3 separate regions of the Homo sapiens genome follow, and all the other regions are linked to region 2. The links are contacts of gene promoters, found by promoter capture Hi-C in blood cells and fetal thymus (Javierre and others, 2016). All regions are on one chromosome and are shown on one strand. The core of a region is centred on a gene start or on the middle of the fragment in contact, and the rest is flanking DNA. Distances in the headings are between cores, read along the strand shown. Region 1 holds the start of LOC101928093 (a long non-coding RNA gene). Region 2 holds the start of BNIP1 (BCL2 interacting protein 1). Region 3 has its middle 50 kb from the start of DUSP1.

Region 1 (3,724 bases), core at 839-3,338, 390 kb before region 2:
TGAAGAAATGAAAGAAAACCCACGTGTTGTTTGCAGTGGTCAGTGGAAGGGACACTATGCCGTAGTGATACATAGTGAGGGCTTGCCATGTGCCTGACCCTGTGCTTACTACAGTAACTCATTTGGCTCTCTCCACAACCTGATGAGCTATATTCTATTACTAATCCATTTTACAGGTGAAGAACCTGAGACACTGAGAAGTTAAATAACACCCAAGGTCACAGACGTCGGAAGCAACACCACTAGAATTTCAACCACAGGCCTTGCTCTTAACCACTCTGCCAGGGACCCAGACTAGCTGGGCCTATGGAGGACACAGAAAGAGTTGGGCTTTATCCTGGATAAGATGGTAAGCCACTGGAAGGTTCTAAGCAGAAATATGACTTCATGTATTAGAATTAGGTTCATTTCCAATAAAAGCCCAGCATTACAGTAGCTTAAACAACACAGAAAGATAAAAATATAGTTTGCTCACACACACAAAAAGCCCACCAGATTTAAGAGAATGAGAAGACAAGCCTCAGGTTGGGAGAAAATATTTGCAAAAGATATATCTGATAAAGAGCTGTCATCCAAAATACACATAGAGCTCTTAAAATTCAACAGTATGGAAACAACCCACTTTAAAAATGAATAAAAGATACCTTAGATACCTTACAAACAAGATACACAGATGGCAAGCGAGCCTGTGAAAAAATGCTCAGCATCATGTGTCATCAGAGAAATTCAAATTAAAGCAACAGTGAGACACCACTACACACCTAGTTAAATGGCCAAAATCCAAAACTCGGATGCCACCAAATGCTGGAGAGGATGTGGGGCAATAGGAAGTCTCATCCAGGGCTGGTGAAAATGAAAAATGCTACAGCCACTTTGGAAGACAGTTTGACAGCTTCTTACAAAACTAAACATACTCTTGCCATGCAACCTAGCAATTGTGCTCCTTGGCATTTACCTAAAGGAATTGAAAATATTTCCACACAAAAACCTGCATGTGGATGTTTATAGCATCCAAACTCACAATTGCCAAAACTTGGAAGCAAGCATGATGTCCTTCAGCAGGTAAGTGAATAAACTGTAATACATCCAGAGAATGAAATATTATTCTGTGTTAAAAAGAAATGAGCTATCAAAGCCATAGAAGAGACATGGATGAATCTCAAATGCATATTACTAAGTGAAACACATTGATCTGAAAAGGCTACATACCATATGACATTCTGAAAAAGGCAAAACTACGGAGACAGTGAAAAGATCAGTGGTTGCCAGGAGTTATGGGGAGGGAGGGCTGAATACGCAGAGTATAGAGGATTTTGAAGGCAGTGAAACTCCTCTGTACGATACTACAATTGGGGATACCTATCACTAGACATTTGTCCAAACCCACAGAATGTCCAATACCAAGGGCGAATCCTAATGTAAACTATGGACTTTGGGTGATACTGATGTGTCAGTGTCGTTAACAGACTGTAACAAATGCACCACTCGCTCTGGTGGGGAATGTTGACAGTGGAGAAGTCTATGTGTATGTGAGGACGGGAGTATATGCGAAATCTCTGTACCTTCTGCTCAATTTTGCCATGAGCCTAAAACTGCTCTAAGAAATGGAGTCCATTGAAAAAATTTTTTTAAAAAGAGCCAATGATGCACACGAAAACATGGATTAATCTCAAAAAGCATGCTAATTGAAATAGACACAATAAAGGAATACTATATAATTCCACTTATAGAAAACTCTAGAAATCACAACTTTAGTCTACAGTGACAGAAAGCATAATGCTAGTTGGCTAAGGTGGGGAGGTTACGGACTGATTGGGAAGGAGCACAAAGGAATTTTTGACCACGGATATGTTCCATATCTTGAATGTATTGGTAGGTATAATACAGTCTGCAAACAATTGTTGAAATTTAAAAATATACAAAACTGTATAAATCTGTCAGAATATATTAAATTGTAAGCTTAAGTGAGATATAGTTATTAAAATAAATATTATCTCAATGAAGTTAGAAAAAGGAAAACTTTAAAAAGTGCACCAGAGCTAATGATAGTGCTCTGCTCCATGAAGTCCTTGTCAGACATATGAAGGGTCTGAGATTTCTTTTCTCCTACTTGCAAACTAACAACGAGCTTACCACAATTGCACAGATGCCAGCAGAAGACTCAGGACTCTTAGGTCAGAGACAAAGGACTTTATTACTCACAACACAGTAGGCAGCTCAAGCTTTATCTTTGCTCTGGTTTACTTGCCTCCTAAGTTCCATGGGGCTGGAGCAGGAGGCCCAGGTGGATCCTGTGCACACAGGGCTCATGTCAGAGCTGAGATATACTGAGCTTAGGAAACTCCTAATCTTATAAGCATAAGAGGCTGCTAACGAACCCGGTCAACATTCAACCTGGAGAAAGGCATTATCTTTATAATCCTGGTCAGGAAATAAATCTGTCCTCTGCTCCAGAGTGAGACACTATTCCTGCTCCCCCAGGCTATTTGTCATATAAACATCCTGAAAAGATGGTTCCACGCAAAAGGTGTCACAAGAGGTATAAGAATGCCATGGAGAATTGCCCCTCAACAGTCCTAAGGGAAGGAGACTCCCTCTGTCTTTCTGCTCTGCCGTCATTCCCGACATCACTTCATGGCTAAAAATGGCTGCCTCAGCTCCAGCCATCACTCTGTATTCCAGACCACAGGAAGGACAAAACAGGGAAGAAATGTATCAGCCCTCTCTTTAAGGACACTCCCTGGAAGTTGCACACACATTAGGTTTGACATTCAAACAGCTATGTCTGGCTGTAAGAGAGGCTGGGGAATGTGGACATATACCTGGCCAAAAGCCTATTACTAAGGAAGACTAGAGCCTGGGGAACAACCAGCCTTTCTGCTCTACATAGTCAGTGTCACAGTGGTCTGTGAATCTCTACATAGTCAGCATCACAATGGTCTGTCACAATGGTCTGTAAGTGGTCTATCAAGTGCTGAGGACACAGGACACATGAACCTTTATTCTAGGAGTCCTTGGGGGAGCTTCTCATTTAGTGCCATCCTTGGTACTTCCTACTTTCCCCAACCTTAAAGGGGATGTTAGGCCCCTGAGTGAGGGTGGGATTCACCCTTGTCTTGCCTGGTACAGTGGAAGGCCCTGCCAGGCTTAGGTCTTGGACCACACACTGTGTTAAACCTGAGCTGTGGGTAAGTCCTCTCCTTCTCCAGGCCTCAGCTACTCCCTCCAGGTGACATGGTGTATTAGTTTGTTTTGCATTGCTATAAAGGGATACCCAAGACTGGGTAATTTATAAAGAAAAGAGGTTTATTTGGCCCACAGCTCTGCAGGCTGTACAGGCAGCATGGTGCCAGCATCTGCTCAGCTTCTGGTGAGTCCTCTGGAAGCTTCTAGTCATGGTGGAAGCTAAAGGAAGGAGCCTGTGTATCAAATGGTGAGAGGGTACAAGAGGGAGAGGGAGGAAGGGCCAGGCTCTTTTAAATAGCCAGATCTCGGCAGGTGCAGTGGCTCATACCTATAATCCCAGCACTTAAGGAGGCCAAGGCAGGCAGATCACTTGGGGTCAGGAGTTCAAGACCAGCCTGGCCAACATGGTGAAATCCCGTCGGTACTAAATATACAAAAATTAGCCTGGCATGGTGGCAGTTGCCTATAATCCCAGCTACTGGAGAGGCTGAGGCAGGAGAATTGCTAGAACCCAGGAGGCAGAGATTGCAGTGAGCCG
Region 2 (4,156 bases), core at 622-3,121:
GCCAAGCCTGTGATACACTGCCTCTCTATTAGGTGCAGTGGGGTGATGAATACCTTACGAGAGGGTGTGTAGAGGGCTGTAGGGACACAGACAAGCACATAGCCCCGCTTACAACAGGTGGGGACCATATTGATTTTTTGGGGAAAAGATGGCTTTCAGTAGAGGCTGTGCCACTTTCTTTCTTTCTTTTTTCTTTTTTTTTTTTTTTTTTTGAGATGGAGTCTTGCTCTGTCGCCCAGGCTGGAGTAGTACAGTGGGGCGATCTCGGCTCACTGCAAGCTCCACCTCCTGGGTTCACATCATTCTCCTGCCTCAGCCTCCCAAGTAGCGGGGACTACAGGCGTCCGCCACCACGCCCGGCTAATTTTTATATTTTTAGTAGAGACGGGGTTTCACCGTGTTAGCCAGGATGATCTCGATCTCTTGACCTCGTGATCCACCCGCCTCGGCCTCCCAAAGTGCTGGGATTACAGGCATGAGCCACCGTGCCCGGCCTAGGCTTTGCCACTTTCAAGATAGGTAATCTTGCAACAGGGTTGATTGTTTTTTGTTTTAATTTACTCTAAGCCCTACTCCTGATCTGTGATAATAGTGTAGTACAATTTCAAGGGTGGTTGTGAGGATTAAGAGAGATGAACATGGTCGGGCACAGTGGCTCACGCCTGTAATCCCAGCACTTTGGGAGGCCGAGGCGGGTGGATCACGAGGTCAGTTCGAGACCAACCTGACCAATATGGTGAACCCCGTGTCTATGAAAAATACAAAAATTAGCTGGGCATGGTGGCACGCACCTGTAATCCCAGCTACTCAGGAGGCTGAGGCAGGAGAATTGCTTGAACCTGGGAGGTAGAGTTTGCAGTGAGCCAAGATTGTGCCATTGCACTCCAGCCTGGGCAACAGAGCGAGACTCCGCCACAAAAAAAAAAAAAAAAAAAGAGAGAGAGATGAACATTCAAGTCCTAAGCCTTTAGGTCCTCACAATCTATGCTTGCTGAAGTGACCCGAACAAATGCAGATGGAGTGGGGTCGAGTGGGGGAAACGCTTTCTAGGGAGAGGGAACACCACATTCTAAGGCTACACATCCAGAAGGAGCTTGAGCAATCCAGGAAGGGCGCAGGGTGCGGTGGCTGATGGCCGGGGTGGCTGATGGCCTTGAGGACCAGCTAAGAAACTTGGATTATTTACTAACAAAAATAAAAGAGCCACCATTTGTTGAGGGTTTGCTCTGACATTTCCATCAAAACTACCTTAGCAAGGTAGATTTAATAAATCCAGTTGTATACAAAAGGGAAACACGAGAAGCCATAGAAGGGCTGCATACAGGTAGGTGACTTGATCAATTTCGTGTTTTACAAAGATCCCTTAGATCATGTGTTGGAGTGATAGGAGGTACTCTACCGACCTGCCTTGAACTCCATACTTTAAAAAATATATGACGTTTATCATTTCCTCTTTTACTCCACAATTTATACTCACTGTAGAAAATATTAAAAATATAAGAAAGTTTGAAGAAACAAAAAATTATTACTGGTACTTTCCAGAGACATCTCAATTGATACTTTTCTTCCAGTCTTTTTTTTTCTATGTAAAAAATATATAGTTATTAGAATGCCTGACAGAAGGAAGATGGAAAGAGACCACTGTGAAGCGTTCTTGATATTCCCTCTTCCCTTCCTCTCCATGTTATTAGGGCCATACCAAGAGGAGAGGCTGATTTCCCTACACGTGTCAGGGAAAGTCCCAACTCTGCGCAGTGACCCTCGCTTGCCATTTTCGCCGGTCTCTAGGGGGCGCTGCCCCGAGACTGGGTGGGGAGGGAAAGAAGGTGGTGCGAAAACGCGTTTGAACTTGGGTCCTGCCGCTGCCCGTAGCCGGCGTCCCCAACATGGCGGCTCCCCAAGACGTCCACGTCCGGATCTGTAACCAAGAGATTGTCAAATTTGACCTGGAGGTGAAGGCGCTTATTCAGGTACTGATCCCGGGACCCCTGCCGGGCTCCAGCAGCCCTAACCCAAGCTCTGCTGGTCTGTGAGCTTGGCAGTGTCACTCCCGAACTTTCCCCACTTGGTTTCCCAGACCACAGGCTCCGCCCCATGGTCGGCTACCCCCCCGGTCCCCATTTGGTTGTGTCCCGGTGACTGCTGGCCTTGATCCTTTTTCCGGGTGCCGCCGGATCTCCCATCCCCAGAGCACCCCACTGTTCTCCGCCCCTGACTCAGCTACTGCTTCGGGGCTCGGCTTTGCCCCTTCCACCTGCAGCCCTGGTCGTCGCCCCGCCCCTGACTACCTCACAACCTACCTGTCACCCTGCTTGGCCCCGCCCTCTGACGCTGCTTCAGCATCCTCTGGTAGCGTCCGGGAGGCAGCTAGCCCCGCCCCCTGCTGGCCAGCTCTCCTGGCATCCAAGGCCACCTGGCACGGGAGGCACCGGGTGAAACGAATGTAACCTGGACCGTAGTTGTGATTTTATGCTTGAGGAAATCGAGTACGGCGCCAAGGCCTAGGTTAGAAGGCATACCTGGGTCAGTGGCAAAACTGGGACCTGGACTGTGAAAGTCAACCTAGGAATAACACCTTAGAGTGTTACCCCGTTTGAACAGATAGGAAATGAAGTGTTTCGCCTTAAGCCATTTAAGGGTAGAGGTAAAATAAACGAGTGGACTTAGGCAAGAATTGGGAGTGTAGACACGGTTCCATGAGTTCAGCAAAAAGAAACCGAGTTTTAAACCTTGTTTTTGCTTGTTTGTTTTTGTTTTTTTGAGACGGAGTCTCGCTCTGTCGCCCAGGCTGGAGTGCAGTGGCGCGATCTCGACTCGCGGCAAGCTCCGCCTCCCGGGTTCCCGCCATTCTCCTGCCTCAGCCTCCTGAGTAGCTGGGACTACAGGCACCCGCCACCACGCCCGGCTAATTTTTGTGTTTTGCTTAGTAGAGACGGGGTTTCACCGTGTTAGCCAGGATGGTCTCGATCTCCTGACCTCGTGATCCGCCCGCCTCGGCCTCCCAAATTGCTGGGATTACAGGCGTGAGCCACCGCGCCCGGCCTAAACCTTGGTTTTTAAAAATAATCATTTTCAACAAAGTCACTAAACATTAGATGTAGACTCAGAGTTTGTAACAAGGTGTGGCAAAAAGTGCAGGAAAATAGGGCTCCCCAGATAAACCAGATGCAGAATAAACCAAATTAGATGCAGAATAAACAAATACGGTGCAAAGAAGTGTGATTAAATGAATAAGCCAGAGAAAAAGTGAAATTTGATGCAGATATTTAAAACTTCTTGAACTTCACTTCTCTGATGTATACATTACAAAACTTCTGGGCCAATTATAGAAAAATAAACAGGTTTCATACAAATGAAATTACATTTTCACATAATCTAAATTGCTTAGGCATTCTTCTGTACTCTTTCTAACATTTGGGTTCTTGTCATTGCTGATGAGAAAGACTGATTATAGCTGGATGTATTGCGTTCTTACCGTTTTCCAGCAGCTCTGCTAAGTGCTTTACATACATACATAATCTATGATGTTCTATGAGGTAAGTAGTGTTGTGATAAGGAAACTCAGACACAGAGAATTTAAATAACTTTCCAGGTAACTTTACACAGCTCATAAGTTGCTACAGCCAGGATTCGAATCCACCTGGTCTGTCTCCAGAGCCTGCCGTGAAAGCTGGCACCAGTAATTCTGAATGTCCAGCAACAGATTCTAAATCTGCCCTTAAACATGTCTATATAAACACTCTAACTTATCACTAATGGTTTGTAAAATCACACTGGAGAAGTTAATCTCATCATATGATGCCAGATATTTAAACATCCTGATCTTCCAAGTTGGAAGGATCTAAGGTTCTAAAGTGATAGTATCACTTTTGCATGTCCATTCTTGTTGGGCATACAAGCTGTTTTAAGCTGTTTCCTACTGGCCAGGTAATGTTTTGTTAAAATTTAGGCACTAAAAATTAGGTCAAAGCAGTTGTGTTTCTTTCTAGGCTTTTATATTAATTCAACATTAATCTAAAAAGGAATGAGAAAAATGTAAATGATAATGTTTTTGCTTGTGTTGCAGAGGTAAACAGCAAAGATCAGGATGAATTATAGTTAGTATGTTAATATTAGTTGGTCTAAACCAACTCTATCACTGTATGGATGGTGTCAT
Region 3 (4,288 bases), core at 710-3,209, 420 kb before region 2:
TGGATGGATGGATGGATTGGATGGATGGATGAACAGATGGATGGATGCATGGATGTATGTATGTATGGATGGATGGATGGATGTATGGATGGATTGGATGGATGGATAGGATGGATGAATGGATGAATAGATGGATGGATGCATGGATGGATGAATGGATGGATGGACACGAGGGATGGATGGATGGACAGGATGGATGGATGGATGGATTGGATGGATGGATGGATAGGATGGATGGATTGGATAGGATGGATGGATGGATAGATGAATAGATGCATGGATGCATGGGTGGGTGGATGGACAGGATGGATGCATGGATGGATGGTTGGACAGGGTGGATGGATGGATGGATGGATGGATGGATGGATGGATGGATGGATGTTTGAAAGACTACTTGACCTAAGCCTGTGTTTGCTTTTTGACCCACAGGAAGGAGGTCAGAATAAAAGATGGCAGCAGTGACCCAGGTAAATAAGTCCTCCAGTGTGGGGCTATGGTGGGGAAAAGGGGTTAGGTGCCAGTGCTGGGGATGGGCCATCAGCAAATTCTGGCAACATCTAATGTGCACAGAGCAATGATGAGTAAACCCCAAGACGTGACCTGGAGCATCTCTTGTAAAGAACAGGGAGAGGGTGTAGTCCCTGAAGCTGGGACCAGGGCAGCAAAGCACGTCAAGGCTCTGACTCAGCCAGGAGCCATGGGAGTTTGAGAAACTGGGCGCAAACACCCACCTCATGCATGAACACGGCTCTGTATAGGCATGAAGGACTCTCACTTGTGGTGCCATGACTGAGCTTCCAACCATGGTCCTTGAAGCCAGTGGGACTCTACTCATGGTGCAGATGGAGAAACAGATGCTTCCAGAGGGGAAGTGACTTGTCCAAGACCACCCAGTCAGAAAATGGCTCACAGTTGGCTTGGGTGGGAGTTGGTGGGGTCAAATGGTTCTGGAGGGGCCAGAGGCTTGGGGTACGGGACTGTCAGGCCGGACTCAAGGGTCCTCAGGTGTAGACTCAGACCTGCCGCTCCAAGCTATGTCTCGAGTGCCCTGAGTGCCCTTCCCCAAATGCAATCTGACTGTGTCACGCTGTTTTTTGGAATCCTTAGGTGGCTCCCCAGTGGTGCGGGATCCTGTCCCAGACACTGGCTTGGCCTTCTGGTTCCTTCATCCCCTGCCCCGCAGACTTCTCCAACCTTGTGCCTCCACCTTCCACTCTCTGCACCCTGCCCTCCACCATCCTGACATGCTTACGTTTTCCTGAACAAACAGACCATATGTGCTTTCTAAGGCCCACACACATTTACACAGGCTGAGCCCTCTGTTAGGGACACCTTACCAACCTTCTTCACTCCAGTAGTTCCTACGGTGTCTTCAAGGTGTAGCTCTGGCCTCAACTGTCTCTGATCCACCCACTTACGTTTAGGCGGGGCAAGGTAGTCCCACTCCTTTCTGCCCCAATTACATGCTATGCTGAACTCTACCATCAAGACAATTACCATAGGCGATAATTAGCTGGTTACTAGTCTGCCTCCCCAGCTGGACTGTGAATTCCAAGAGAATGAGCTTTGGGACTTATTCACCTCCGTATCTGTAATGCCTGGCACAGCAGCTAGTTATTATTTGTGGAAGGGAGGGAGGGAAGGTAGAGAGCACCTTACAGTCTGTGAAGTGTTCTTTCATGCATGTAATTATTTTTAAACTTGGGGCAGCAAGGAAACATGCTGGGAAGGGTCCTCACCTCAAGCAAAGTTGTCATGCAGCAATCCTTTGTAAACCTGGTGTCTGGAACTCAAAACATAGAGGAAAATGGTGCCAAAGTGTTCGACTTTTGGAATATGGATATGCAGAGAAGCACCTTATGCTAGGGAAAGGACTCAAGCTTTGGAATCCAGAAGTACTGCAGTTTCAGAACGTTTCTAGCTGCAGGAAAGGAAACCCAACTCCAAGCCTCCACCTGACTTAGATAACAAGGGAGCTTGTTGGCTGGTGTGAGCAGAGCTGAATCTTCAGAGTGGTGCAGGCTGTCAAGGAGCTGGGTGAAGCTTTCGAGGACCTCTGTCCTCTTCATAGGTTCCCAAGTCAGTGTTACCCTGAGCGCATGGCACATGCTTCTCATTCCGCTATAGGAGGGGACATATTCCAATATCCATCCAGGAGTCCATTGGGCAGTTGTTCTCATTGGACAGTCTTGGGTCACACGACTACCCCTGAACCAATGCCTGTGGCCAAGGGAATGGGAGGCATTATCTGGTTCCAGCCCATCAGAGCCCTCCTTGGAGTTGAGGGGGCTCCCCTCCAAGCATGCTGGCTGTGGTCGGGGGGTGGTGGTAGGTACTTAGAAGGAGATCTGGGGATTGTTAGAAGGAATGGCTGCTGGGTAGGCAGCCAACAAGTGTCCCCAGCTCCTGAGTTCAAACTTTGACCCTGCCTCTTCTGTCACCGTGGGCAAGTCACTCCACCTCTCCAGGCCTCGGTTTCCCCACCTGTAAAATGGAAGAGTTGTGTTTCCATCACAGAGTGGTTGTGAAGACTCAGGGAGACAGAGTTTAAGAGGCTAGCCCAGTGGGAGGGGCCCAGGGGTGGGTCCCAGGGTCCCACCTTCTTGGTTCCTGAGGTTCTCAGGCTAGCCCACATTTCTCCACAAAGGAGCAGTGGTCTAGCCTATGAGAAATGTCACATGAGAAATATTTCTTGTTGTTTGTGAGAAAGGAGAGCACGTTTGTCCCAACGGGGCGAGGTGAGCCATTCAGGGGACAAGAAGGGCCTGTATCTCACCCGGACTTGGAGTCCATCTCAGCAGCACTGGGCACATCCTCATACTCAGCCCCTCATCCGTCCCAGACTCACTGGTGTCCCTTGACACCTCAAGTGTTCTCTTCTGCAAAAGGGGCCTGCCTGGCCACGTGGCCAAGGGCACAAACTCTGGAGCCAGGTGGCCCAAGGTCACCTCCCGGCTGTGCAACTTGGGGCCAGTTAACTGACCTCTCTGTGCCTCAATCCCCTCATCCGAAGAACAGGGACAATCATCATTCCTACCTCCCAGAGTTGTTACAAAACTTCAAATAAATCAAATCTTTATAAAGCATTTTATGAATGGCTATAGCGCAAAGCTAAAGCTATTGGAACCGGTTCAATGAACGCCAGAGCGTTATTTTCCAAACTCAGTCAGTTCCAGCGCGCTTTGATGATTTTTGCTAAATCTGCAGAGCACTTGTTTTCAAACTTAATATTTGTTTTTAATTGGCTCACTGAACTAAATGTATCTTAAAAGGAAACGTTGCATCACCACCCCGAATGGAAAAGTGGAATCATTTCCCATCAACACAAAAATGAATATAACAAGTGCTTACCATGTGCCAGGCACTCTGCTAAGCACATTACAAACATTAACTCATTCATCCCCATGAAAACCTTATGAGATGGGCACCACTGTATCTCAGTTATACAGAGGGGAAAACTGAGGCACGGGGATCTTAAGTAACTTGCACAAGGTCACAGCTGGAATGCAGCAGCATTATGATTTGAAACAAGGCAGCCTGGCTCCAAGAAACAAGACAGATAAATAAAACAAGGTCACCTCTTCTGTCTCAAGGTGGCCGCCTCCTGCAGGCTCTGTGCTGGGACCGCTATCTGTCACGCTATCTGTTAGATCAGCAAGTGGTAAAGAGGCGTTAAAACCAGAGTAGCACAAGCTGAGACTTTCTCCTTGAAGCAATCAGAAAATGGAAGGACAGCCAGAAAAAACAAATTTCTCACTGCGGGATTTACTGATGTCCTTAACGCCGAGAGTATATAAAAGCATCTTTCCTGGAGCCAGCAGTGTGCAACCCGTATTTTGTGAAAGCCCAAAGCAGAGGAAGCGCCCAGCGGCACCACCAGCATTTGCATCCCCCCATCCACACCCCCAGCCCCTGGCATTTTTTAGGTCAGGACATTGTTCAACATCGAGATGGGCAGAGCCACAGACAGGGATTAAGAAAGACATTAAATCCACTTAATAAGAATAGGCGAAAACCAAAAATTAATCACCAATAAAAGCAAATTAACTACCTGTACAGCAAAGTAATATCATATCACTGTCATACTACAGAGAGGGGGAAAACGAGCAAATCCATATAAGCGCTTAACGACCTGAACGCTACGTTACCCTTGGTGTAAAGGCAACAGTACTGGAAAGAAGGCTTGAACTTTATTTAATAGATTTATTGTTCACCAGGCCTGAAACCATTCTGTGGCTATTGTAGCTTTCAGCAAATGAGCAAACATGTTAATGTTGGAGAGTCAAGG

What was found. The method cuts DNA at HindIII sites, captures the fragments that hold promoters and counts their contacts. A CHiCAGO score of 5 or more calls a contact.
Region 1: a fragment that was not itself captured here is called in contact with the fragment with the promoter of BNIP1 in region 2 in 1 of 17 cell types (total B cells); the score reaches 5.4 in total B cells.
Region 3: a fragment that was not itself captured here is called in contact with the fragment with the promoter of BNIP1 in region 2 in 3 of 17 cell types (fetal thymus, naive B cells and total CD8 T cells); the score reaches 7.3 in fetal thymus.

Annotation. Positions count from the first base shown.
Region 1 is chr5:172,752,512-172,756,235 of GRCh38, forward strand. LOC101928093 (a long non-coding RNA gene) reads left to right here and starts at 2,992. Exons shown (of 4, transcript NR_161233.1): 1 at 2,992-3,188. The HindIII fragment of the contact is 263 bases long and covers 1,958-2,220 here.
Region 2 is chr5:173,142,660-173,146,815 of GRCh38, forward strand. It overlaps BNIP1 (BCL2 interacting protein 1), which reads left to right and starts at 1,872. Exons shown (of 6, transcript NM_001205.3): 1 at 1,872-1,970. The coding sequence starts at 1,887. RefSeq lists enhancers at 2,065-2,593, 2,535-2,604. The HindIII fragment of the contact is 7,780 bases long and covers 1-4,156 here.
Region 3 is chr5:172,718,753-172,723,040 of GRCh38, forward strand. No RefSeq gene overlaps it. Among named protein-coding and RNA genes, the nearest start is that of DUSP1, 50 kb to the right of the region's middle. The HindIII fragment of the contact is 163 bases long and covers 1,879-2,041 here.